Regions from separate parts of the Homo sapiens genome. Here regions 1, 2, 4, 5, 6 and 7 are each linked to region 3. The links are contacts of gene promoters, found by promoter capture Hi-C in human tissues and cell types (Jung and others, 2019). All regions are on one chromosome and are shown on one strand. The core of a region is centred on a gene start or on the middle of the fragment in contact, and the rest is flanking DNA. Distances in the headings are between cores, read along the strand shown.

Region 1 (3,219 bases), core at 681-3,180, 540 kb before region 3:
CACTCCAGCCTGGGCGACAGAGTGAGACTCCATCTCAAAAAAAAAAAAAAAAAGAAAGAAATGGTATGTGTAGTATGCGTAGCCATTCATACTTGATTTCTGGATAAACCAAAACACAGAAGGAAGACCACTCTGTCCAGCAGCATCATGTCCAACCTCTAGACTGTCCCTAACACAGCAATAAAATGGGAATAGAAGTGTTATCTTATTAGCCATGAAAGAATTTTCCAAAGGCAGAGGGAAAGGCCCTGGGGCCTGGCGAGCATGTCACGGGCACTGCTTACCAAGCCAGTCTGTGCCTGGCTGCTTACCACGCCAGTCTGTTACCTGGTTGTTGGGGCTAAGGTTCAGCAGTCTCCAGGATGAGTACATGAGGTCAGAGAAGTGGTAGAGCAGCCGGAGCCTGGCCCGCACCGTGTGAATGCTGACTTCTCTCAGCGCCCCATACTGGGGGGGCACTGTGTCAGGCAGGCCCAGCTGCAGAGGTACTGACACACCTGTCCAGAAAGCAAATGGGCACTTATGAAGGAAACAGCATTGCTTTCACTTTTCACATTTTGAAAAATTTCAAGCATACAGAGAAGTTGAGATAATTACACAATGGACACCCATTCAAACCTCTATCCATCGATTCATCTTAGTTTGGTGTGTGCATTTGTGTTGGTTTTTAAAATGTCTTTATCAGGGGGCGGAGAAAAAAATAAAATAAAATAAAATGTCTTCATTATTATGGAAATGAAACCTGGTATTTTCTCTTTTTGTTTCCCATTTTATTTAACAATAGAACTTAGGCAGTTCTTTCACAAAAATAAAGCCAAATTTTTCCTTTCATATTTAATAATTGTCATCTTCATAATACCACAAATGTGGGCAAGGACTAAGTAGGCAGTTCTGGAAAATGGAAATGGGAAACTTAGCAGAGCCAACTCCATATTCACTAGGGATCTGATAGCAAGTATTCATGACAGAAACATATAGGTGCATGATTCATGAGGCTTTTACTACAAGAATAAGAGTTCTGTAAGAAGCAAAGACTACAAGGCCTGCAGCCACAGCTACCCTCCTATAAAAACACATAAAAGAATAAAAACAAGATACAAACTCACTTCAGTTTCCTGTAAATAAAGACTGGTACAGTGCAATTCCTAGATTTATTATTATTGTTCGTAGTAAAAACTAACATTTACTGAGTACCTTCTATGTGCCTGGCACTATTCTAAGAGCTTTACATGAATGGGGCCACTTACTTCTACAGCTCTTTGCAGTAGGTGCTATTATTATCCTCATTTTACAGACAAAACACTGAGTCTCAAGGTCACTCAGATCATATGTGGAGGAGCTGGGATTCAGCCCCAGCAATGTGGCCCCAGAGCTTGAACCTTTACCTGTCACACTGGATAGCTTCTGCCCTAAAGTGGAAGTGAAATCCCTCTGAAGCCACTGAGTACCTGAAATTGTCAGTGCGTAGGCAGCTCTGCTCATTCTAGATTCTGTTAATAGAAACCATTTCCTGCTTGTTTGGCATCTACCTGGAATTCCCACTTTTCTCTCTTAGATATCTAAGAAACAAAATCCCTATGGGGAATCTTAGGACCCCCCCTAAGAAATAGAGGGGTTAACAAAACTGGAAGAGAATGCTGAGCTCTTAGGCACAATGTTGCTTCAGGGAAATTCTAGTGCCTTAGACACCAGAAGATGGTAGAAAGACAAGGCTTGAGGGCCTTGTCCAATAGGCTGGACACAGTGGCTCACACCTGTAATCCCAGCACTTTGGGACGCTGAGGCTTGAACTCCAGACTTGAGGTCAGGAGTTCAAGACCAGCCTGGCCAATATGGCGAAACACCATCTCTACTAAAAATATTAAAATGAGTTGGGCGTGGTGGCACATGCCTGTAATCCCAGCTACGTGGGAGGCTGAGGCAGGAGAATCGCTTGAACCCGGGAGGCAGAGGTTGCAGTAAGCCGAGATTGCGCCATTACACTCCAGCCTGGGCAACAAAGTGAGACTCTGTCTCGAAAAAAAAAAAAAAAAGGAAACTGCCCAAATATGAAGAAATGTGTAAGAATGACAAATGTCACAACATTAAGGTAACAGCTACATCTGGAAGGAATGGAAGATAGATCAAATCAGAAAGGGCCCACAGTTGGGTGTTGAGCACACAAGTATGTATTATGGTTTTCTTTAAATCTTTGTGTAGCTATACAAAAATTTCATAATAAATTAAAAATAAAACAAACAACAAAAAGCTTGAAGTAGCCCACCAGTCTTGCTAAACACAGGAATAAAATGGCAGCAAGTTGACTGCTGTGCCAATGCACAGACATCATGTTTCAAATGGTTAACTAAGGTGAGGAATTTGACAAATGGTCTCAGGGCTTTTAATCTTTATTTCTAACAGTGGGCCTTAGAAAGCTATAATTTGTCATTTCTTTTATATATTAAAAATACCGGCCAGGCGCTGTGGCTCATGCCTGTAATCCTAACACTTTGGGAGGCTGAGGCGGGCGGATCACTGGAGGTCAGGAATTTGAGACCAGCCTGGCCAACATGGCGAAACCCCGTTTCTACTAAAAACAGAAAAAATTAGCCAGGAATGGTAGTGCATGCCTGTAGTCCCAGCTACTTGGGAGGCTGAGGCAGCAGTCATTTGAACCTGGGAGGCGGAGGCTGCAGTGAGCTGAGATCACACCACTGCACTCCAGCCTAGGTGACAGAGCAAGACTCCATCTCAAAAAAAAACTTAGTTGCTGCTAAAATTATAAATTTTTGCTTGCATAAGTAATATGTATTCTGCTTTTGGGAGTGCAGAGAGGACGTGGTTCATACTGATGTCAGCAGAACAAATGCCTGCTATGAAAATACTTCCAGTGCTAGTAGCACAAAGAATGCTTTGTGTGGCAGAAGGCTTGATGGTTTCACAACGATGCTGGATACAGTTGGGAACTGGCAAGCAGACAGTGCCATGGGGTACTGCTAAAAAAGAAACGCTGCAGGAGCATGAATATTTCATTCCTCACCTGGTGCTCTTGGTGGGACAGGTGGTGCTGTCCATGCAGCACTGTGGCAGCGGCCAGCCGAGATCTGCCGAACATTTTTCCCTTGCAGACCTGTTACCAGGGTTGGTTCTCGAACATGGTTGGTATGGCCTAAGCCGAGCTGGGAATAAATCACAAATATACAGACATTCAATTAGAAAGAGGAAGAGAGGAAGTCAATA
Region 2 (3,395 bases), core at 857-3,356, 540 kb after region 3:
ACTACAGGAATAGGATGGGAAAAGCTGCAGGAAGGAAGCTGTGGTTTTTAACCCCAGCTTTGCATTATAAAGAATTACCTGGGGAGCTTTAAAACTATATGCTAATAATCAGGACACTCTAGGCCAATGAGACCAATCTTTGAAGGTAAGGCCCAAGTGACTGATTTCTCAAATGTGAAGCCAGGGTAAGAAACACTGAAATACAAGAAAAGCTGAAAACCCAGTTGGAATATTTAAGGCTGGTGCTGTTAACAAGTGGGAAAGGAAAGTTGAGAGACTATTTCAGTAAGAAGAGTGCCCAAGTTTGAGAGGAATCCTGAGTGGCAGTTAGAGGGCTCTATGCAAAGAAAAGCAATAAAGAAGGCAATGCATTTGAGAGGAACTAGTCTAATTCTGAATAGAACATGGCCCAATTTAAGGAAGATTTACAGGGAATGGATCTGCTTGCAAAATAATGAGGCCCAAGTGAGAGGCAGAGGCCATAAGGCCAAATCTGGGGACAAAAGGTCTGGTGTGGGGAACTAATGAGCTTCAGACACGGTTTGGACAGGACAGCAACAAGTTTGGGGAAAAAATGAGGAAGAGAATTAGGTCCAAATTGTAAATGAAAGCCATTCTGATGTATAAGGAGCAACTAGGATTAAAAATTCCGGGGAATTAGGAAATTGTGGAACAGTTTCAGAGAACAGAGGCAGAAATATGGGATATATTAAAATTTGAGGGAGAGATAGGTGAGAAGGGTTGTCTTGGAGAAAGAGAGGCATGTAGAGAAAGGAAAATTGAGGAACTATCTGCAGGGGGAAGGATATACCATGCAAGTTTGGAAAACCAGGGTGCTCGGTCTGAGAAAGATGTGCAGCCTTTCTCTAATTAATGGGGGAAGACTAGGGTCGGGTTTTGAGGGAGGAAATTGCAAAGATCTAGTGTCCAGAATATAGAGCTTGGTTTGAAGGCACTGGAGGTACAGGGGGAAGGTTCACTGGAAGCGAGATGGCTGGGTCCTGTGATCTAATGATCCAAAGACGGGATTCAGTTAAGAGGGGAAGGAGAAGGATGAGTTCCAGCTGAGAAAAGATGTTTAGAGGGTAAGAATGTTTCCAAGAGTGTTGGGGGTATACCATTGGGGCAACAGGATGGAGCACAAGAATCAAACCTGGTGTTTGATAAATAAAAGGAATGGCGCTGGGAGACTGGGAAAATGGGGCCTAACTGGGAGAGGGGTGTGGAGAGGGGAAGGTGGGGGAAAGATGAAGCTGAAGTATGGGACCAGGAGGAAGAGGCTGGACATCTGTGTAAGGACTGCTAGGCCTGAAGAGAATGGGGGGAGGGTGATGAGTGGGGGTAAACTGAGAACTGAAGGATGGAGGTTGACTTTGCGGGGGGCAGTGATATGAGAAGAGTCTGGGTGGGGGGTGCAGTTTTCATCAGGGAGGGAATTCAAAGGGAAGGGTGAAGTGACTTATAAGGGGAGTAAGAAAGATTTGAGGAAGACAGGAAACAATTTGGGGAATCTGGATGCCGGGGAAAGCCCAGTTTGGGGAATGGGGCACAATTCGGTGGGGCTGAAAGAAAAAAGGGGACTTGCTTGGAAGGTTGGGTTCCGGCTTTTGGGGGCTTTAGGGGAGGAGAAGGCCCGGATGAGGGGGATGGGCCCGGCTGAAGAGGGGGCTAAAGGACAGAAGAAGGCCCAGTTGCAGGGCTGAGGACCGGACTAGGGTGGCTGAAGTGGTGAACGGACCTGGCTGGGGGCGGATGGCCCCGCTGCGGGGGGCGGGGGCCGGCTAGGGGTACGTGAGAGGCCCTCTGGAGCAGATGAGGGAGGATGGGGGCGGGGAGCCTGGGCCGGGCCGTTACCTGTCCTGGGTGTTTATCATCCTCGGCGGCTCTGCTCAGGGTGGGAGGAGGCGGCGCAGGGAGTGGATAGATGGATGAGTGGGTGGGTGTGGGGTCACGCGCGCGGGGTCGATCTCTGCGGGCTAAGTCCCTGTCAGGCCGCGGGCCGAGCGCCTCCTTTTGCCTCAGCGAGCGCCTGCCTCCAACTGACCCTCCCCGGCCGCCACCGCCGCCGCCGCCGCCGCCGCCCCGCCCCCGAGTGCCTCATCTGCATAGCCCCACCCCAGCGCCGCGCGGTGTCCTGGGAAACTGGGGCCCACAACAAAGGGCAAAGCACCGCCCCGCCTCCGCGCAGGCGCACCACGGACCGATCGTGGGGGTAGGGCTAGGGGGTCCGAACGAAGGGCAGGCTGTGCAGGAGGCCATGACCAAGGCGGTGGGTCTGCCCGCAGCTGCGGCAGCGCGGCCCAGAAGATGCGTTGTGTTTCCGGTAGTTTTCTGTGAGGATTGACTCAACCTGGTCCTCATCCCTATTCCTTGTTGGCGTGGGGCCGAACAGGGCTGTGCCATTTGGGAGGATATTAAAACAAAATCAGAAATCTTAAGAGAACTACACACATATTAGCACCATTCCTAGTCTGAGTCCAGGCCCACAGATCTGTTATCTCAGCTCATAATGCAGATCAATAACCTCAGCTGTCAGGGTAGATCAACAATCTCAGCATCTCGCACACATCTCATGTCAATCGTCAAGGCTGCTCCAAGCACTGGCTTAGGTCATCTGAAGCCAGAACTCTGTAGATCATGAGCACAGTCACAACAAGACAGTCGTGGAAAGCGTCGTCACTAACTTGTTCACGGTCACTTCAGATCACAATCAGTGCAAGTTACTTCAATCGATCATGCAAGGTTACTAGTTCAGTCACCTCCATTCATTATCCCTACTGGTCCTTATGACAGATTAGTGCCTGAAGGCCACAGTCACCGGTGCGCAGACCCCTCAGATCACAGTCCTTGTAGGTTACAATCACAGACACTTCAACACAATCATCAAAAGCCCCGACTCTGTTCACAGTCAACCCAGATTGCAATCAAGAGAGGTCACATTATCTCAGATCACAGTGGGTCACTCTGTCACCTCAGATTACATCCATTCAGTTATTCAACAAATAATTATTTTATTTATTTACTTATTTTTGAGATGGAGTCTCTCTCTGTGGCCCAGGCTGGAGTGCAGTGGCACAATCTCAGCTCACTGCAACCTCCACCTCCCGGGTTCAAGCGATTCTCCTGCCTCAGCCTCCTGAGTAGCTGGGATTACAGACATGTACCACCATGCCCGGCTAATTTTTGTATTTTTAGTAGAGACGAGGTTTCACCATGTTGCCCAAGCTGGTCTTGAACTCCTGACTTCAGGTGATCCACCTGCCTCGGCCTCCAAAAGTACTGGGATTACAGGCATGAGCCACCGCACCCGGCCAACAAATAATTATTGAATAGCTACTTACTGTATGCTCCAGGCATGTGCTAGAGTCCAAGAATACGCCATAATCAACCAGGCA
Region 3 (3,333 bases), core at 275-2,774:
GGCGGATCACCAGAGGTCAGGAGTTCGAGTTCAGCCTGGCCAACATGGTGAAACCCTGTCACTACTAAAAATACAAAATTAGCCAAGCGTGGTGGCGCATGCCTGTAATCCCAGCTACTCAGGAGGCTGAGGCAGGAGAATCACTTAAACCCGGGAGGCGGAGGTTGCAGTGAGCTGAGGCCGCACCACTGCACTCCAGCCCAGGCGACAAGAGTGAAACTCCGTCTCAAAAAAAAAAAAAAATTTGCGGGGGTAGAGACAGGGTCTTGCTATGTTGCTCAGGTTGGCCTTGAACTCCTGGGCTCAAGCAATCCTCCTACTTTGGCCTCCAAAAGTGCTGGGATTTTAAGTGTGAGCCACTGTGCCTGGTCAGGGCCCCATTACTCTTAAGAAAGGGCAATACTGTGTTCCCAGGGCAACAGGCAGTCGGTGCTCAGTGAGGTCCACGCTACAGATCGGCTGAACTCTGCAGGTCAGTTTGCTGCCATCCCCAGTGCCAATTTCACTTCATGTGAGTTGACTACCCCTGCTCCAGCCACTTACCTCTCCTGTAGCTAAGGCCACAAAATTATCCACTGTTTTTGGAACAGTCTTTCCGAAGAGACCAAAGATCACCCGGCCTACATCTTCATCTCCAATTCGTAGGTCAAAATACACCTGAGGAAAGAGACCATTTCCAACTTAGCTTCTTTAAAGGGGCGTTGCTAGGGGAGGGAAGGTACAAGAAGCTAACCTGAGGATGGGAGAGAGAATAGAGCCATATTTTTAGAGAAGTGGTTCTGAATCTGATTTTGGTGACGGTAAAAATCCTATGAGAATCTAATGAAAGCTCCAGACCCTTTTCTTGGAAAACATGCTTATCTATACCCTCCTTGGACTACAGGATAACAATATTTGCTCTAAACAGCTAATGGACCCAGATTCTAAAAATTAACATTAGAAAACCCATAAGGAGCGGAGCCTAAGTTCACCACTTAAGTTTGAAGTATACATACTGTGCTTTGTAATTGGAAGTGGCTAAAATTTGGCTTAAGGAGAGAAAGGATTCGGAATCCGGCAGGCGTGATCTTTCACCATCTCCCCAGCACTGAGGGGTGTTTGCAAAAAGCCTGCTCTGAGACTGCCAGTGTCGGCCCCAGATGGGTATCCGGGGATCCAACTAACTCCCTGGGTCAGGGCAGGGGCTGGGGGTGTCGGGGTGGGTCCGGGTCGTTCCCTGGACTGAATGGGCAGGACGGCCCAGACGCCACGAGGCCACAGACAGAAGCCGAGGGAGGAGGGGCTGAGCCAAGGCCAAGCCAAGGCCGCCCGGGCCCGAGCTCCGGCACCGTAAATGCCGCGGACTCCACCGGACCTTGACGGTGACTTTGGGCCCCTTCTTCTTCTCATCGGCCGCAGAAGGTCCCGGCAGCAGCAGGAAGAAGACGGACCCCGCGATGAGGGCGGCGGCAAGGAGCACCTTCATGTTGCGTTCGGAGAGGCGCAGCATCCACAGGCGGAGGCGAAAGCAGCCCGGACAGCTGAGGCCGGAAGAGGGTGGGGCCGCGGTGGCTAGGGAGCCGGCGCCGCCACGCGCGGGTGGGGGGGACTGGGGTTGCTCGCGGGCTCCGGGCGGGCGGCGGGCGCCGTTTCCCCCCTCCGGCTCGGCGCCGGATAGTAGGTCCCCCTGCGGGGCGGGCACCGACGCGGGCTCGTGGGTGGTTGCCACGTTATTGCTCCCTCATTGGGCTCCCGGCCGCCCTCTCCCGCCCACAGGAAGGCCACCGGCGGAAGGCGGCCTCGCAGAGCACGGGCCCGGGCTCCGAGAAGACCACAAGCCCCGGCATGCTCCGCGGCCCGCCCCGCCCGGAGCGCTGTTCCACTGGCCTGCGGTAGCTGGCGCTTGAGGTTAGCAAATACGTGGGCCTGGACAAGGGGCACGGGAAGCTTGTCACTGTTTTGGGCCAGTCAAGTGTTTGTCACCGCCAAATTGGCTCTAAACGTTGTGGCTTCCAAACACTTCAGGGACATTTATCCTTACCGAGCGTGGCCTTGTACGGCTCCTCCACTTGTCTTGCAAAACTTGCTGCACAACCCACTTCCTTTTTTACTGAGGCCGTCAAGTTACTACCCATTTTTCTCTCCCTTCTGTAATCTTGCTGTGCTTACTGTTGTGTATATCAATGGACATCTTATTGTATACGCTGTTCTTAACTTCCTTTACCTTTTCCCCCAATAGACTACATTTTTTTTTTTTTCTGCGGAAGGGACTGTGTTGCATTTACTCTGTCCACAGCTCCCTCACAGCGCGGCAGTACTGAGTGCCCAACAAGTCCTGGTTGGGATAGCTTCACATCCGCACTGACATGAGAAATAATTTATGCCACGGCCTGAGGATACAATGCCTTTTTCCGGAGGTCAGGAATAGTTACTAGATGTCCCCACAGGGCTATTTTAGGTCTTCACACACTTAGTGTTGTCCCAATCTACAACATAGATACTTTGGTACTGGGAGTCTTACACACCAAAACAAACCAAAACACAAACTTCCAAAATTTGGACCTATGGCGTTAAAACGTCTTTAAAACTAATTTTCAACGATTAACTTCGTAGAAATTCCAGGTCGTCACAGCACAGATTATAGGCAGGGCTCCATTTACATAAATTATGCAATGTAGTCTTCATGAGGCGCTGACCTGAGACTGAAGTTATGCAAGGCCACTGGCATTAACTTTGTTGTTCATTACAGCGGCCTTACACAGGTTGTAGAGCTTCAAGACAGTTCTCTTATTTCCCATCCTTGCACCTCAATTCAGACAACCCCAATCAGGAGGAAGTTTTAAACATTGTTATACTGACAAAGATGATCTTCCAGATCCATCTCTCATCCCTTTTTTTTTTTTTTCTCCTATTTTGTTAAGCCTCTTTCTTCACTCACTGGTCTCAGGCTGCCATAGCCAGAGAAAAATGTTTACTAAATCATGTTTTCAAAGTAGCCTCCAGCTGGGCACAGTAGCTCATACCTGTAATCCCAGCACTTTGAGAGGCTGTGGCAGGCAGATGACTTGAGTCCAGGAGTTTGAGCCTGGGCAACATGGTGAAACCTGTCTCTACAAAAAATACAAAAATTAGCAGGGCGTGGTGGTGCGCATCTGTAGTCGCAGCTACCCCAGAGGCTGAGGTGGGGGAATCACCTGAGCCCAGAAGGTCAAGGCTGCAGTGTACTGTGATCGTGAAACTGCACTCCACCCTGTCTCAAAAACAAAGAAACACTCAAAAAACCCAAGTAGCCTCCTGCACATGAGGAGCTAAGGCTAAAATGGCATCACAGCAGCCTTTCTCCCACTCCCACTT
Region 4 (3,448 bases), core at 528-3,027, 680 kb after region 3:
TTCTTTCTCTTTCTTTCTCTTTTCCCTCCTTGCGTCCCTCCCTCCCTCCCTTCTCTCTCTCTCCCTTTTTTTTTTTGACAGAGTTTCACTCCTGTTGCCCAGACTGGAGTGCAATGGCGTGATCTCAGCTCACTGCAACCTCCGCCTTTCGGGCTCAAGCGATTCTCCTGCCTCAGCCGCTCAAGTAGCTGGGATTACAGGGATGCACCACCTCGCCTGGCTAATTTTCTATTTTTAGTAGAGACGGGGTTTCTCCACGTTGGTCAGGTTGGTCTGAACTCCCGACCTCAGGTGATCAGCCTGCCTCAGCCTCCCAAAGTGCTGGGATTACAGGTGTGAGCCACCGCTCCCAGCTCTTTCTTTTCTTTCCTTCCTTCCCTCCGTCCTTCCTTCCTCTCTCCTTCCTTGTTTCTTTTCTTTCTTTCCTTCCTTCATTTCTCTTTCTTTTCTTTTTCTTTCTTTCCTTTTTTCCTTCCTTCCCTCCCTCCTTCCTCTCTCTCTCCTTCCTCTCTCTTTCTTTTCTATTCTTTCTTTTTCTTGACCAGTGTGATAATATCAGCCTCAATTTTCTTCATTCCTTTAGCTAAAGGATCCCAGGCCTAGGCATGAGGGAGAAGTGTACCTGCATCTCCTTCCCCCTTGGCCTGGGAGCCCCAGGCTGCCCTTTTCCGTACAGGGCTGGAAGTAGCCTGGGAGCCTGAGGGCTGGCAGAAGGCCGTGAAAGGGGAGCTTGGTCGCTGGCACAGCCGCTGCTATGGCAGCCAGAGCCGAAGAAGGTCACCATTGATCTCACATGCACTTAATTTTCCCTTCCTTGGCATGGGACGGGGTTGACCAGGAGAGCTAAGGGGGAGTATGCGTGTGTGTGTGAGAGGGGAGCGGTGCTGCAGGCTGCGATGCAGCCAGTTACTTTCTCTCTCTGGGCCTCAGTTTCTCCAATGTAAAATGAGGGCGCATGGTATAACTAAAATCATTACTCTCTGCTGGTCCCCACACTCCCACTCTCCAGTAAGGCTGTCAGGGCTGCAAGCTCACCGCGGGATCGGGGGGATGGTCGACCCTCAGATACGGGAGGGATTGAGCGATGCCCAAGGAGAGCAGGAGAACACTGCGCTTGGAGACCCCTGAGAGCCAGGGGCGGGCCGCCCCCTAAAGGGACCCCGGAGTCCCGACTCTCAGCTCCAGCTCTTCCTGTGACACCACCCTCCGGACAGAGACCCAAGCTCCAGGCCCGGCCCCGCCCAGAGGTTCCAGGGAGAAGACCAGGCCACCGCCCACTGCCCGGCGTCGGGGAGGAAAGAGGAGGAGCCTCTGTGTGCCCACATCTCTGGCCGCCCAGGGCAGCTCGGCTCGGTCTCGCAACCCCAGCCCACTGGTTCGGGAGACCTCAAAGGCTCCACCGCCAGCGCCCCCAGCGCTCACTGTGTGCGCCCCACCCCAGCCCTGCCTGCGCGCCGCTCCCGCCACCCTCGCCTCAGTCTCTGGGCCGGAAGCCCCCTCTCCTCCCCCGCCGCAGCCCCCTCCTAGTCCCTCTCCCTCCGCCGATGCGGGAAACCTTCTCCGCCCCGTCCCGCCCTCTTCCTCCAGTTGCATCTCCGCCCGGCTCCTCCGTCCAGTCTCCAACCCAGGCCCCGCCCCTCCCCACCCATTTCCCGCCCTGGGCCGGGCCCCCGGCCCCACCGCCCCCTCCCCGGCCCCGCCCCGGCCCCCGGAAGCCTCACCCCGCCCCCGGCCCCGCCCCCCCGAAGTTTCTTGGGCCCCCGGCAGCCGGCGGGACAGAACGCGGAGAGTCGCCGCCTGGCCGGGCGTAGACGCGGTGGCAGAGCCCGCGCGGCGCTGGAAGCGAGTGGCGGAGCGGCGGGACCTCGGCGGACTCGCCATGGAGGAGGAGGTGAGGGCGGGGCCCGGCGGGGCGTTGGGCTGGGGTCCTCGAGCCCCTCACGGGGATTGCGGTCCTGGGCTCAGGCCCTCGTTCCTGCCCGCCCCACTCCCGCCAGTCTCACCTCAGGAAGAGCCTGGGCAAATGGGGCAGGGGCGAGGGGCTGGATCCATATCGGGGACTTCGCAGACCGCGTCCTCCTTCATTCTCGCTGACTTTCTCACCAGTTGTGGGGCGTCGTGGTTGTTACCGTTCCCATTGGATTGACCAGGAGACTGAGACTCCAGCGAGATTGATGACTTGCTGAAAGTGGCCTGGGTGACTGGGCTCGAACCCCGATTACCGTGGTCGGATCCTGACTCTCTCTCTCTCTCTGTGTGTGTGTGTGTGTGTGTGTGTGTGTGTGTCGGATCCTGACTGTGTGTGTGTGTGTATGTGTGTGTTGGGGGGTTCCTGTCTCAAGGATCGGATCCTGACTCTGTGTGTGTGTGTATGTGTGTGTTGGGGGGTTCCTGTCTCAAGGATGTGACCATGCTTTGGTGGCAGGAGGATTGGAGAAGTTGCTTTTTTCTCCCTTGTATAAGTCTCTGTATCTTTTCCCCCACTCTCTCCCCGCTCCACATCCATCTGAGCAGCTAGCTGTAGGGAAGGAATCGGGAGTCCGGCCCACCTAGGGTCTGATCTTAGTCCCTGCCTTCCCCACCCGAGGGCTGGACCAACTGTGTCCCTGGAGCCTCCTTCTAACCACTCAAAACACTCTTGGCCTGGGATTGGGTCTTGCCCCTGCCCCTGCCCTTTACTTGCAAACTCAGTTCTGCCAGCAGCCGCTTTATCCGAGGGTCCAGCACGCAGCAAGCACTTAATATATGCCTGTGGAATGATTAAGTTAAAATGAGGGGCCTGTTGGGTCTAGAGGAAGGTGAATTTGTTTCTTATCCCCTGAGGGGGTCCCAGCTTCAGCCCCTCTCAGCCCAAGGGAAGGGGCATGTCTTTGCCTCCTTGGATGGGGAGGAAAGATGAAGTTCTCTGCCTTGGGGGAACCCTGGCCAGCTGGGAAGCCCTGAGTGGACCGGACTGCCTGTGTCCCTTCAGTGCCCACCTCCCACTTTTCCAGGGCCATGGATAGGAGCAGCTAGTGGTCCGTCAGGGCTCCCTCTAGGCCAGGCCCTGCCTTTCTGTGGGATGGTAGATAAGTCACTTCCCCTCTCAGCCTTCATTTCCTCTTCTACAAAATATAGTGCCTGTCCTCCTCATACTCCTGGCCTGACAGTGGCCGGTTCTCTCAGTGGGTGAAGGTAGGGGGCAAAGTCAGGCCTCTGTGATTTGCTGCGGTTTCTTTCTGGCTGTTAGGTGGGGCTGCCATCTGCCTGCCCCAGGCCCCTGCTGCAAGGGCTGGGCTCTCTGGCCAGGGCCCCTCCCCTGCTCCCAGAGGATGTGGGTCAGGATTACTCCATCTCCTGATCTGCGCTGGCCCCTGATTAAGGGAAGTTCTCCGGACACCTCCTGGGCCCGGCTCAGCTCTGTACACCCTTGGTCCTGAATCTCTCACATTGTCACTTTCTTTTCTTT
Region 5 (3,161 bases), core at 169-2,668, 830 kb after region 3:
TTAGAGTGAAAACATTTATTTTACCCCCAGGAACCACGGATGTGTAAAAAAGTGAAAGAGAAACAAAACACTTGCTTTTTCAGACTAATACTAATTCTTGGAATACCATCCCCTTAAAGCTTTACAGGGTACAGTCGATTGCAGTGTTATATACCAAATTATGCTGAGACCCAAGATTGAAAATGAATGCTCTTTCCTCATTGCCAGACCAAGTCTATGTAAAATGTATACTGCACTGGATTGGAGGAATCAGACACAAAGTGGGTATTCAGGAACTGGCTTAGAAAAATGCTGATGTGGCTATTTTAGAGGTTACTACCTAAAGGCATTATCAAACAGAAGTTATATATAGTTATTTTTAATTAATAATGTATTAGTTGTCATCTAGGAGTTCAGAAACCTGAGTTTTATCTTTGAGCAAAACATATCCTCTGCTAGGTCTGGTTTCCTTCTCTGTAAAATGAGGCCAAGGCTAAACTAAATTATCTGTAAGTTCTTTCCAATTCTAAGATTTTAGATTTTATAAATTTATAAGAGATTTGTCAAAGAATCTTTACAGCTGGGCGCGGTGGCTCACGCCTGTAATCCCAGCACTTTGGGAGGTTGAGGCAGGTGGATCACCTGAAGTTGGGAGTTCAAGACCAGCCTGACCAACATTGAGAAACGCTGTCTCTACTAAAAATACAAAATTAGCCAGGGTGGTGGCATGTGCCTGTAATCCCAGCTACTCAGGGGGCTGAGGCAGGAGAATCGCTTGAACCCGGGAGGCAGACATTGCAGTGAGCCGAGATCGCACCATTGCACTCCAGCCTGGGCAAAAAGAGCAAAACTCCATCTCAAAAAAAAAAATAAGGATCTTTACATCTTTACAGCAGTCTTTCCTCAAAGCTGCCCTTCTCTGATAATATTCCTCCTCCTTCTTGCTTCCAATCAAACTTTAAAAAAAAAAAAAAAACAGGCCAGGCACGATGGCTCATGCCTGTAATCCCAGCACTTTGGGAGGCCGAGGTGGGTGGATCACGAGGTCAGGAGATTGAGACCATCCTGGCTAACACGGTGACACCCTGTCTCTCCTAAAAATACCAAAAATTAGCCGGGTGTAGTGGCGGGCGCTTGTGGTCCCAGCTACTCGGGAGGCTAAGGCAGGAGAATCGTGTGAACCCGGGAGGCGGAGATTGCAGTGAGCCGAGATAGTGCCACTGCACTCCAGCCTGGGCGAAAGAGCAAGACTCCGTCTCAAAACAAACAAACAAACAAACAAAAAAAAACAGCCTACACACAAAAATGCTTATTTAACGGAAGCAGTATTTTAATCTCTCAGAAAAGTTAACGTTTGTCCATTAACTTTTTAGAATAAAAGTTTCTAAGCAAAGGTACCACATATTTTGTATCATCTGTCAACCTAGCATCTCAATGTTTCAACAATGTAAACAATGTAAATAATTAATGTAAATAACAATGGATAATCTACCTTCTGGTAGAAGAGCAGCAATAAAAATTAGTGGAAAGCAAGAGCTGCACTTCTTTACTACAAAAGATAGCTTCTATCTGTGGTGTCTTAGAAAACTTTATAAATCTTAGAGGTAAAAAAAGACAGTGATTACCTGGACATGGTGGTGCATACTTGTAGTCCCAGCTATTTGGGAAGTTGAGGCAGGAGGATACTTGAGCCCAGGAATTTGAGGCTATGTGTGTGATCATTGTGCCTATGAATAGCTACTGCACTCCAGCCTGGGCAACATAGTGAGATCTTGTCTCTAAAAAAATAAAAATAAAAAAAAATAAGACTGATGAAATAGTAACTAAAATAAAATATTTTTGAAATTGTCTAGCATAGTACCTGCATATAATGGGCATTCAATTGGCATGTGTTCCCATTTCTTTTTTTCTGAGCACCAAAGCCAAACACATTAAATTCCCTAATCAAGGATAAAAATATTTGCAAATAGACTCATGGCAATAGATTAGTTAGGCACACTGATTGGAATCTAGGTTACCAGGGCATACGTTCCAGCTCCACCGCTGAGTAGCTATTTAAAATTCTGGAAAAATGAGGATCAATAACAGTATCTGCTTCACTTGGTTATTGTAAAGATAAAATGAGACAGTCCAGGTCAAGTCCTTACACACATGGCTAGCCCTCAAAAAATGTTAGCTAATAATAGTGATATTGCGAACCTACTGTGTTTCTTCAGACACTGTGCTAGGTGAGTTCTTTTTTTTTTTTTTTTTTGAGATGGAGTCTCACTCTGTCACCCAGGGTGGAGTGCAGTGGCTTGATCTTGGCTCGCTGCAACCTCTGCCTCCCGGCTTCAAGCGATTCTCCTGCCTCAGCCTCCCGAGTAGCTGGGATTACAGGCGTGCACCACCATGCCCAGCTAATTTTTGTATTTTTAGTAGAGATAGAGTTTTGCCATGTTGGCCAGACTAGTCTCGAACTCCTGACCTCAAGTGATCCTCCCTCGTAGACCTCCCGAAGTGCTGGGATTATAGGTGTGAGCCACCACGCCTAACCAAGTATATTATTTCTATTCCTCATGACAATCTTTGCAAAGTAGGTACAATTTTAATTTCATGGATAGGGCCATACATGGAGAGGCTCAGTAACCAGCCTAGGCTTACAGTCAGTGGCAGGGCTAGGCTCATGTGAGGTTTGTTGACTCTAAGACTCTGCCCCTCAAAGTCATATATTTTCACCTTGAAATTGTTTGATAAATATGAAGAAAAATGGTGAAAATAGGTTGAACTGACTTAAATACAAAGTATAAAGCAACAAACATCCTTTGGGTAGCTATTCTCGAGAACTCAATTTTATGCTCAGAAATGTTTCTTTTGTCCCCCAAACCAAATGAAGAATAAAATCCTTCTTTAAAACAAAATCTCCTGTAGTCTTTGGGTTCTAATCCTAGTATTGTCACTACCTAGCTGTTGCTAGGCCCCTGTTTCATCATCTCTAAAAAGAAATTTTGAGTTATATAGATCCTTCCCTACTTGAAAATTCTTTTGCTCCTATTGGTCTAAAGACATTTCCAATAGCGTAAAAGTTCCTCTAAAAACTACAAATAGAGCTACCATATGATTCATCAATCCCACTACCAGGTAGTCATCCAAAGAAAGAGAAATCAATATATCGAAGAGACATCTACACGCTCATGTTTATT
Region 6 (3,165 bases), core at 618-3,117, 560 kb after region 3:
AAAAATAGCCAGGCGTGGTGGCGTGTGCATGTAATCCCAGCTGCTTGGGAGGCTGAGGCAAGAGAATCGCTTGAACCCAGGTGTCGGAAGTTGCAGTGAGCCAAGATCATGCCACTGCACTCTAGCCTGGGCGACAGAGTGAGACTCCCTCTCAAAAAAAAAAAAAAAAGAAAGAAAGAAAAAAAGAAAAAGTAAGCTGTTCTTTAGCACAGGAAATTTTACATCACTCCTTTTTCTCCTTGAACTTGTATTTTCTTTTTACTTCTCTCACATAATGCTTTCCTAATACAATATGTACTTTATCCCTTTTTTTTTTTTTTTTTTTTTTTTGAGATGCAGTCTTGCTGTGTTGCCCAGCCCAGGCTGGAGTGCAATGGCACAATCTCAGCTTACAGCAATCTCCGCCTCCCGGGTTCAAGCGATTCTCCAGCCTCAGCCTCCCCAGTAGCTGGGATTATAGGTGCCTGCCACCACGCCCAGCTAATTTTTGAATTTTGAGCAGAGACAGGGTTTCACCATGTTGGCCAGGCAGATCTTGAACACCTGACCTCAGGTGATCCACCCACCTCAGCCTCCCAAAGTGCTGGGATTATAGGCGTGAGCCACTGCGCCCAGCATTTTTTTTTTCCCCCAAGATGGAGTTTCACTCTTGTTGCCCAGACTGGAGTGCAGTGGCGCGATATCAGCTCACCGCAAGCTCTGCCTCCCGGGTTCCAGCGATTCTCCTGCCTCAGCCTCCCGAGTAGCTGGGATTATAGGCATGCACCACCACGCCCAGCTAATTTTTGTATTATTAGTAGAGACAGGGTTTCTCCATGTTGGTCAGGCTAGTCTCAAACTCCTGACCTCAGGTGATCCACCCACCTCAGACTCCCAAAGTGCTAGCTAGGATTACAGGCGTGAGCAACTGCACCCGGCCAAGAATTCTTAAATATAAGACACAAAATTGTATAGGAAATACAACTTATATTGAGAGAGATGTTCTCATGCTAGAGTGAGACAGTGATAAGCATCAATGTTTTTGTTGGCTGGTTGGTTGTTTTTCTGAGACAGAGTCTTGCTCTGTTGCCTAGGCTGGAGTGCAGTGGTGCAAATGTGGTTCACTGCAGCCTCGACCTCTTGGGCTCAGGCAGTCTCCTGCCTCAGCCTCCCACGTACATGGGAATACAGGTGTGCATGACCATGCTCAACTAATTTTTTGTAGAGACAGGGACTCACTTTGTTGCCCAGGCTGGTCTCCTGGGCTCAAGCCTTGGCCTCTCAAAGTGCTGGGATTACAGGTATGAGCCATTATGCTTAGGCTGTGTTTTCGTTGTTATTGTTGTCTTTTTTTTTTTTTTTTTTTTTTGAGACAGTCTGACTGTGTTGCCCAGGCTGGAGTGCAGTAGCTATTCACAGGCATGATCGTAGTTCACTGCAGCCTCAAACTTCTAGGCTCAAGTGATCCTCCTGCCTCAGTCTCCTGAGTAGCTGGGACTACAGGTACATACCGCCACACCTGGCTAGGCTCAATTTTATTTCAACGTTTCAATCTCACACATGGTAATGCTGAGGTATCTTATTCACATAAGTACCTGGGAAAGGAAGAAGTTCTAGCAGAGTCACTCAATACCACCTAATCATCAAGCAGATGACAACAAAATTTGTTTCAGGTCCTTCCATTCAAAAGCAAAATATTGGGAAAGCTTTAGTTTGTAGAAAGGATCTATAATACAGTCATTTGAGTCATTCACTTTCTCAATATTGAAATCACTATTTCAAACTGTTTCTGTTTGAATTCCCAGAGATTTTTACACATCAAGACAATATACCAAATACCAGATCTCCCAACATACCAAACATCAGATCAACCAACAAACCAAATACCAGATCACCAACAAACCAAATACCAGATCTCCCAACATACCAAATACCAGATCACCAACATACCAAATACCAGATCACCAACATACCAAATACCAGATCTCCAACATACCAAATACCAGATCTCCAACATACCAAATACCAGATCTCCAACATACTAAATACCAGATCACCTAGCATACCAAATACCAGATCTCCCAACATACCAAATATCAGATCAACCAACAAACCAAATACCAGATCACCAACAAACCAAATACCAGATCTCCCAACATACCGAATACCAGATCACCAACATACCAAATACCAGATCTCCAACATACCAAATACCAGATCTCCAACATACCAAATACCAGATCACCTAACATACCAAATACCAGCTCTCCCAACATACCAAATACAAGATCTCCCAACATACCAAATACCAGATCTCCAACATACCAAATACCAGATCAACAACATACTAGATCTCCTAAGATCTAGGATGAAGGGCCAGGCATGATGGCTCATGCCTATAATCCTAGCACTTTGGGAGGCTGAGGTAGGTGGATCACTTAAGCCCAGGAGTTTGAGACCAACCGGAGCAACATGGCAAAACCCCATCTCTACTAAAAATACAAAAATTAGCCAGGCACGATGGCTCACACCTGTAATCCCACACTTTGGGAGGCTGAGGCGGGAGGATCACTTCAGGCAAGAGGTCTAAGACCAGCCTGGCCAACATAGCAAAACACCGTCTCTACTAAAAACACAAAAAATTAGGCCAGGTGCGGTGGCTCATGCCTGTAATCCCAGCACTTTGAGAGGTCGAGGCGGGCAGATCACAAGGTCAGGAGTTCCAGAACAGCCTGACCAACATGGTGAAACCCCGTCTCTACTAAAAACACAAAAATTATCTGGGCATGGTGGCTTGCACCTGTAGTCCCAGCTACTCAGGAGGCCGAGGCAGGAGAATCACTTGAACCCAGGAGGCGGAGGTTGCAGTGAGCCGAGATCGAGCCACTGCACTCCAGCCTGGGTGACAGAGCGAGACTATGTCTCAAAAAAAAAAAAAAAAAAAAAAATAGCCAGGTGTGGTGGTGCGCACCTGTAATCCCAACCACTGCACTCCAGCCTGGGCGACAGAGCAAGACTCCATCTCAAAAAAAAAAAAAAAAAAAATTAACCCGGTGTGGTGGCGTGCACCTTAATCCCAGCTACTCGGGAGAGTGAGGGAGAATCACTGGAACCCAGGAGGCAGAGGTTGCAGTGAGCCGAGATCGTGCCACTGCACTTCAGCCTGGGTGACAGAGGGTGACTCTC
Region 7 (3,378 bases), core at 557-3,056, 810 kb after region 3:
GTCCACCGGGCCAGATGAAAAATTTCCAAGAACTATTTTTTTGAGCATAAATGCAGGCATCAGCCAAAAGCTGTAAAACACAAAGACCTTATAATTTAAACTTCCAAGACTACACATGGCAAATATTCATTCAACATTAAAGCTTTGTATTAGCTTGGGATCTAGAAATAAAAAGTCCTAATCCCCTCCTCCAAAGAGCTCAGCATCTAGTTTTTACACACACTTTCCCAAGCTTCCAAAGAGTTATGGCTTCATATAATTAAACTTTTATTTGAGGATTTAGGATAATTATAAGAGATATTTCAAAATACCTTTACTGAGATAGACATTCTGATGAGTCCAAGATTGTTTTTTTTCTCTAATTGGCCCTATTTCCAAGGATTAAACTATTTCTTTTGGAAAACTGAATATTAAGAGAAGTATTCTTTCCTTCTGGTTGATATTATGTTTTTATCGATTGATATTTCAAAACAGATTTCAAAATACCAATATGAAAGCTATTGCACCTCCCCAAATTTGCTACTATTAGATTCAACTTGGCTAATTCAAGGCAAATTGATATTTATAGATTTATTTTTTAAATTTATTATTGTTATTATTTTTTGAGACAGAGTCTCAGTCAGTTACCCATGCTGGAAGTACAGTGGCATGATCTCGGCTGGGTGCAACCTCTGCCTCCCGGGCTCAAGCAATTCTCATGCCTCAGCCTTTCGAGTAGCTGCGACTACAGGCACATGCCACCACGCCCGGCTAACTTCTGTATTTTTAGTAAAGATGAGCTTTTGCAATGTTGGCCAGACTGGTGGTGAACTCCTGGCCTCAAGTGATCCACCCACCTCAGCCTCCCACAGTGCTGGGATCACAGGCGTGAGCCACTCCTGGCCTCTTTTTATTTTTTAATTAAAAAATTTAAAAAAAAACTTTTAGAGACAGGGTCTCACTCTGTTGCCCAGGCTGAAGTGCAGTATTGTGATCATAGCTCACTGTAGCCTCAAACTCCTATCAAGTGATCCTTCTACCTTGGCCTCCCGAGTAGCTGGGACTACGGGCTCGTACCACCAGGCCTGACTAATTTTTTAAAAATTTACTGAGCTGGGGGAGCCGGGGCCAGGCACGGTGGCTCATGCCTGTAATCCCAGCACTTTGGGAGGCCAAGGTGGGCAGATCACGAGGTCAGGAGATTGAGACCATCCTGGCTAACACGGTGAAACCCCGTCTCCACTAAAAATACTAAAAATTAGCCGGGCTTGGTGGCGGGCGCCTGTAGTCCCAGCTACTCGGGAGGCTGAGGCAGGAGAATGGCGTGAACCCAGGAGATGGAGCTTGCAGTGAGCCAAGATCGTGCCATGGCACTCCAGCCTGGGCGACAGAGCCAGACTCCGTCTCCAAAAAAAAAAATTTACTGAGCCAGGCGCAATGGCTCATGCCTGTAATCCAGAACTTTGGGAGGCCAAGGTGGGTGATCACAAGGTCAGGAGTTCAAGACCAGCCTGGCCAAGATGGTGAAACCCCGTCTCTACTAAAAATACAAAAATTAGCCAGGGGCGGTGGCCAGCGCCTGTAATCCCAGCTACTTGGGAGGCTGAGGCAGGAGAATCACTTGAACCTGGGGGGCAGAGGCTGCAGTGAGAACGTGCCACTGCACTCCAGCCTGGGCAACAGAGCGAGACTCCCATCTCAAAAAAGAAAATTTTTTTTCTGTAGAGACAGGATCTTGCTCTGTTGCCCAGGCTGGTCTAGAACTCCTGGACTCAAGCAATGCTCTTACCTCTGCCTCCCAAAGTGCTGGGATTACAGGTGTGAGCCACTGTGACTGGTCAGATCTTTACGGATTTCTATATATGATCTTTAGTTTATATTTATTCCATTAATTTCAACTGTTAAGAGCCATCATGGAGGGCAAACACTAATTTCTGTAAACCTATGACGAAAATTACTTAGATGAGGTGCAAACTACCTTCTGATGCTTATTACCACTGGGACAGCCTTGCTGGAAGTTGAGCTTCCCTCAAAAGGACCACTAGGTCACCTTCCAGTTAACTTTCTAAGTTCTCTCCCAGCCCCATCACTTTCTTATCTTTTGAAGGTGATGAGGTCTAAGTACGCTCTGTAAGGGGTGGACCCTGTTGACTTTGCTCACTCCTGGATCCTCAGTGTGTGGCACACAGTAAGCACTCAGATATTTGACAATAAGCAGCTGATGTGCCAGAGCACAAACTGAATGGGGGCTGTCTTGGCATTCTAACAATTAGAACAGCAATAAAAATCACCAAAAATAATGAGCATTATTTAGTGCATTATCTGGACGGGAAGGATTTGTAAAGTAGCTAATGTATACAAGAAATTGTTGCATGAATGCTGAGTAATTACTAAGATAACATCAGAAAAACTAAAAAATAGCTGGGCACAGTGGCTCATGCCTGTAATCCCAGCACTTTGGGAGGCTGAGGCGGGCGGATCACGAGGTCAGGAGATCGAGACCATACTGGTGAACACGGTGAAACCCCGTCTCTACTAAAAACATAAAAAATTAGCCAGGCATGGTGGCGGGCGCCTGTAGTCCCAGCTATTCGGGAGGCTGAGGCAGGAGAATGGCGTGAACCTGGGAGGCAGAGCTTGCAGTGAGCTGAGATCGTGCCACTGCACTCCAGCCTGGGCGACAGAGCGAGACTCCATCTCAAAAACAAACAAACAAAAAAACAAACAACAACAAAAAAAACTAAAAAATATCAGAGTGCAATTTTAAGTAGATGTGAAAACGATATTTCCCTATACATTATTTGAAAACACTGATCATACAGATGTGTTTACTCACTGGGCTTTTTTTTTGAAGTAGGGTCTTGCTCTGTCACCCAGCCTGGAGTACAGAGGCACAGTTGTGGCTCACTGCAGCCTTGAACTCTTGGGCTCAAGCGATCCTCCTGCCTCAGCCTCCTGAGTAGCTAGGACTGCAGGTGCATACCATGATACCTGGCTAATTTATTATTATTGTTATTTGTAGAGATGGGGTCTCACTATGTTGCTCAGGCTGGTTTCAAACTCTTGGCCTGAAGTGATCCTCCTGTCTTGGCCTCCCAAAGTGTTGGGAGTACGGCATGAGCCATCACACCTGGCCACTGGGCTTTATTTTAAGGCTAGAGCCTCGCCTTGCCAGCAATGAAAGAAGTGCACAGTAAGCCAGCTGTATGGCATCATAGATACCTACCAATTACTTAAAATGATAAAATCAATGAAAGGATGGCTCCTAGGAAACAAGTACCCCACTGGCTGCACCCAAAGCATTTCCACCATTTTGTTTTTGGTTTGTTTTTTTTTTGAGATGGAGTTTCGCTCCTGTTGCCTAGGCTGGAGTGCAATGGCGTGATCTCGGCTCACCAC

The links. Contacts are between HindIII fragments. The study calls those that stand out against the background at their distance.
Region 1: a contact is called between a fragment that was not itself captured here and the fragment with the promoter of PPIB in region 3, in 1 of the 25 tissues and cell types used here (lymphoblastoid cells).
Region 2: a contact is called between the fragment with the promoter of OAZ2 here and the fragment with the promoter of PPIB in region 3, in 4 of the 25 tissues and cell types used here (dorsolateral prefrontal cortex, hippocampus, lymphoblastoid cells and 1 more).
Region 4: a contact is called between the fragment with the promoter of PLEKHO2 here and the fragment with the promoter of PPIB in region 3, in 1 of the 25 tissues and cell types used here (lymphoblastoid cells).
Region 5: a contact is called between a fragment that was not itself captured here and the fragment with the promoter of PPIB in region 3, in 1 of the 25 tissues and cell types used here (dorsolateral prefrontal cortex).
Region 6: a contact is called between a fragment that was not itself captured here and the fragment with the promoter of PPIB in region 3, in 1 of the 25 tissues and cell types used here (hippocampus).
Region 7: a contact is called between a fragment that was not itself captured here and the fragment with the promoter of PPIB in region 3, in 1 of the 25 tissues and cell types used here (lymphoblastoid cells).

What each region holds. Positions count from the first base shown.
Region 1 is chr15:63,625,658-63,628,876 of GRCh38, forward strand. It overlaps HERC1 (HECT and RLD domain containing E3 ubiquitin protein ligase family member 1), which reads right to left. Exons shown (of 78, transcript NM_003922.4): 70 at 3,020-3,158; 71 at 328-497. Among named protein-coding and RNA genes, the nearest start is that of USP3-AS1, 26 kb to the left of the region's middle. The HindIII fragment of the contact is 6,017 bases long and covers 1-3,219 here.
Region 2 is chr15:64,701,175-64,704,569 of GRCh38, forward strand. OAZ2 (ornithine decarboxylase antizyme 2) reads right to left here and starts at 2,107. Exons shown (of 5, transcript NM_002537.3): 1 at 1,855-2,107. The coding sequence starts at 1,874. LOC124903507 (a long non-coding RNA gene) reads left to right here and starts at 3,369. Exons shown (of 3, transcript XR_007064679.1): 1 at 3,369-3,395. RefSeq lists an enhancer at 1-64 and silencers at 1,693-1,912, 1,923-2,242. The HindIII fragment of the contact is 8,869 bases long and covers 1-3,395 here.
Region 3 is chr15:64,161,498-64,164,830 of GRCh38, forward strand. PPIB (peptidylprolyl isomerase B) reads right to left here and starts at 1,525. Exons shown (of 5, transcript NM_000942.5): 1 at 1,355-1,525; 2 at 544-657. The coding sequence starts at 1,489. RefSeq lists enhancers at 84-648, 882-1,382, 1,190-1,439, 1,383-1,883, 1,990-2,039 and a silencer at 1,490-1,849. The HindIII fragment of the contact is 5,042 bases long and covers 426-3,333 here.
Region 4 is chr15:64,840,138-64,843,585 of GRCh38, forward strand. It overlaps PLEKHO2 (pleckstrin homology domain containing O2), which reads left to right and starts at 1,778. Exons shown (of 6, transcript NM_025201.5): 1 at 1,778-1,891. The coding sequence starts at 1,880. LOC124903508 (a long non-coding RNA gene) reads right to left here and starts at 19. Exons shown (of 4, transcript XR_007064682.1): 1 at 1-19. RefSeq lists silencers at 1,301-1,620, 1,631-2,070 and enhancers at 1,878-2,401, 2,434-2,985. The HindIII fragment of the contact is 9,878 bases long and covers 1-3,448 here.
Region 5 is chr15:64,993,196-64,996,356 of GRCh38, forward strand. No RefSeq gene overlaps it. Among named protein-coding and RNA genes, the nearest start is that of SPG21, 4.9 kb to the left of the region's middle. The HindIII fragment of the contact is 7,563 bases long and covers 1-3,161 here.
Region 6 is chr15:64,722,360-64,725,524 of GRCh38, forward strand. No RefSeq gene overlaps it. Among named protein-coding and RNA genes, the nearest start is that of OAZ2, 21 kb to the left of the region's middle. The HindIII fragment of the contact is 6,629 bases long and covers 1-3,165 here.
Region 7 is chr15:64,970,153-64,973,530 of GRCh38, forward strand. It overlaps SPG21 (SPG21 abhydrolase domain containing, maspardin), which reads right to left. Exons shown (of 9, transcript NM_016630.7): 6 at 1-70. Among named protein-coding and RNA genes, the nearest start is that of SPG21, 18 kb to the right of the region's middle. The HindIII fragment of the contact is 8,694 bases long and covers 1-3,378 here.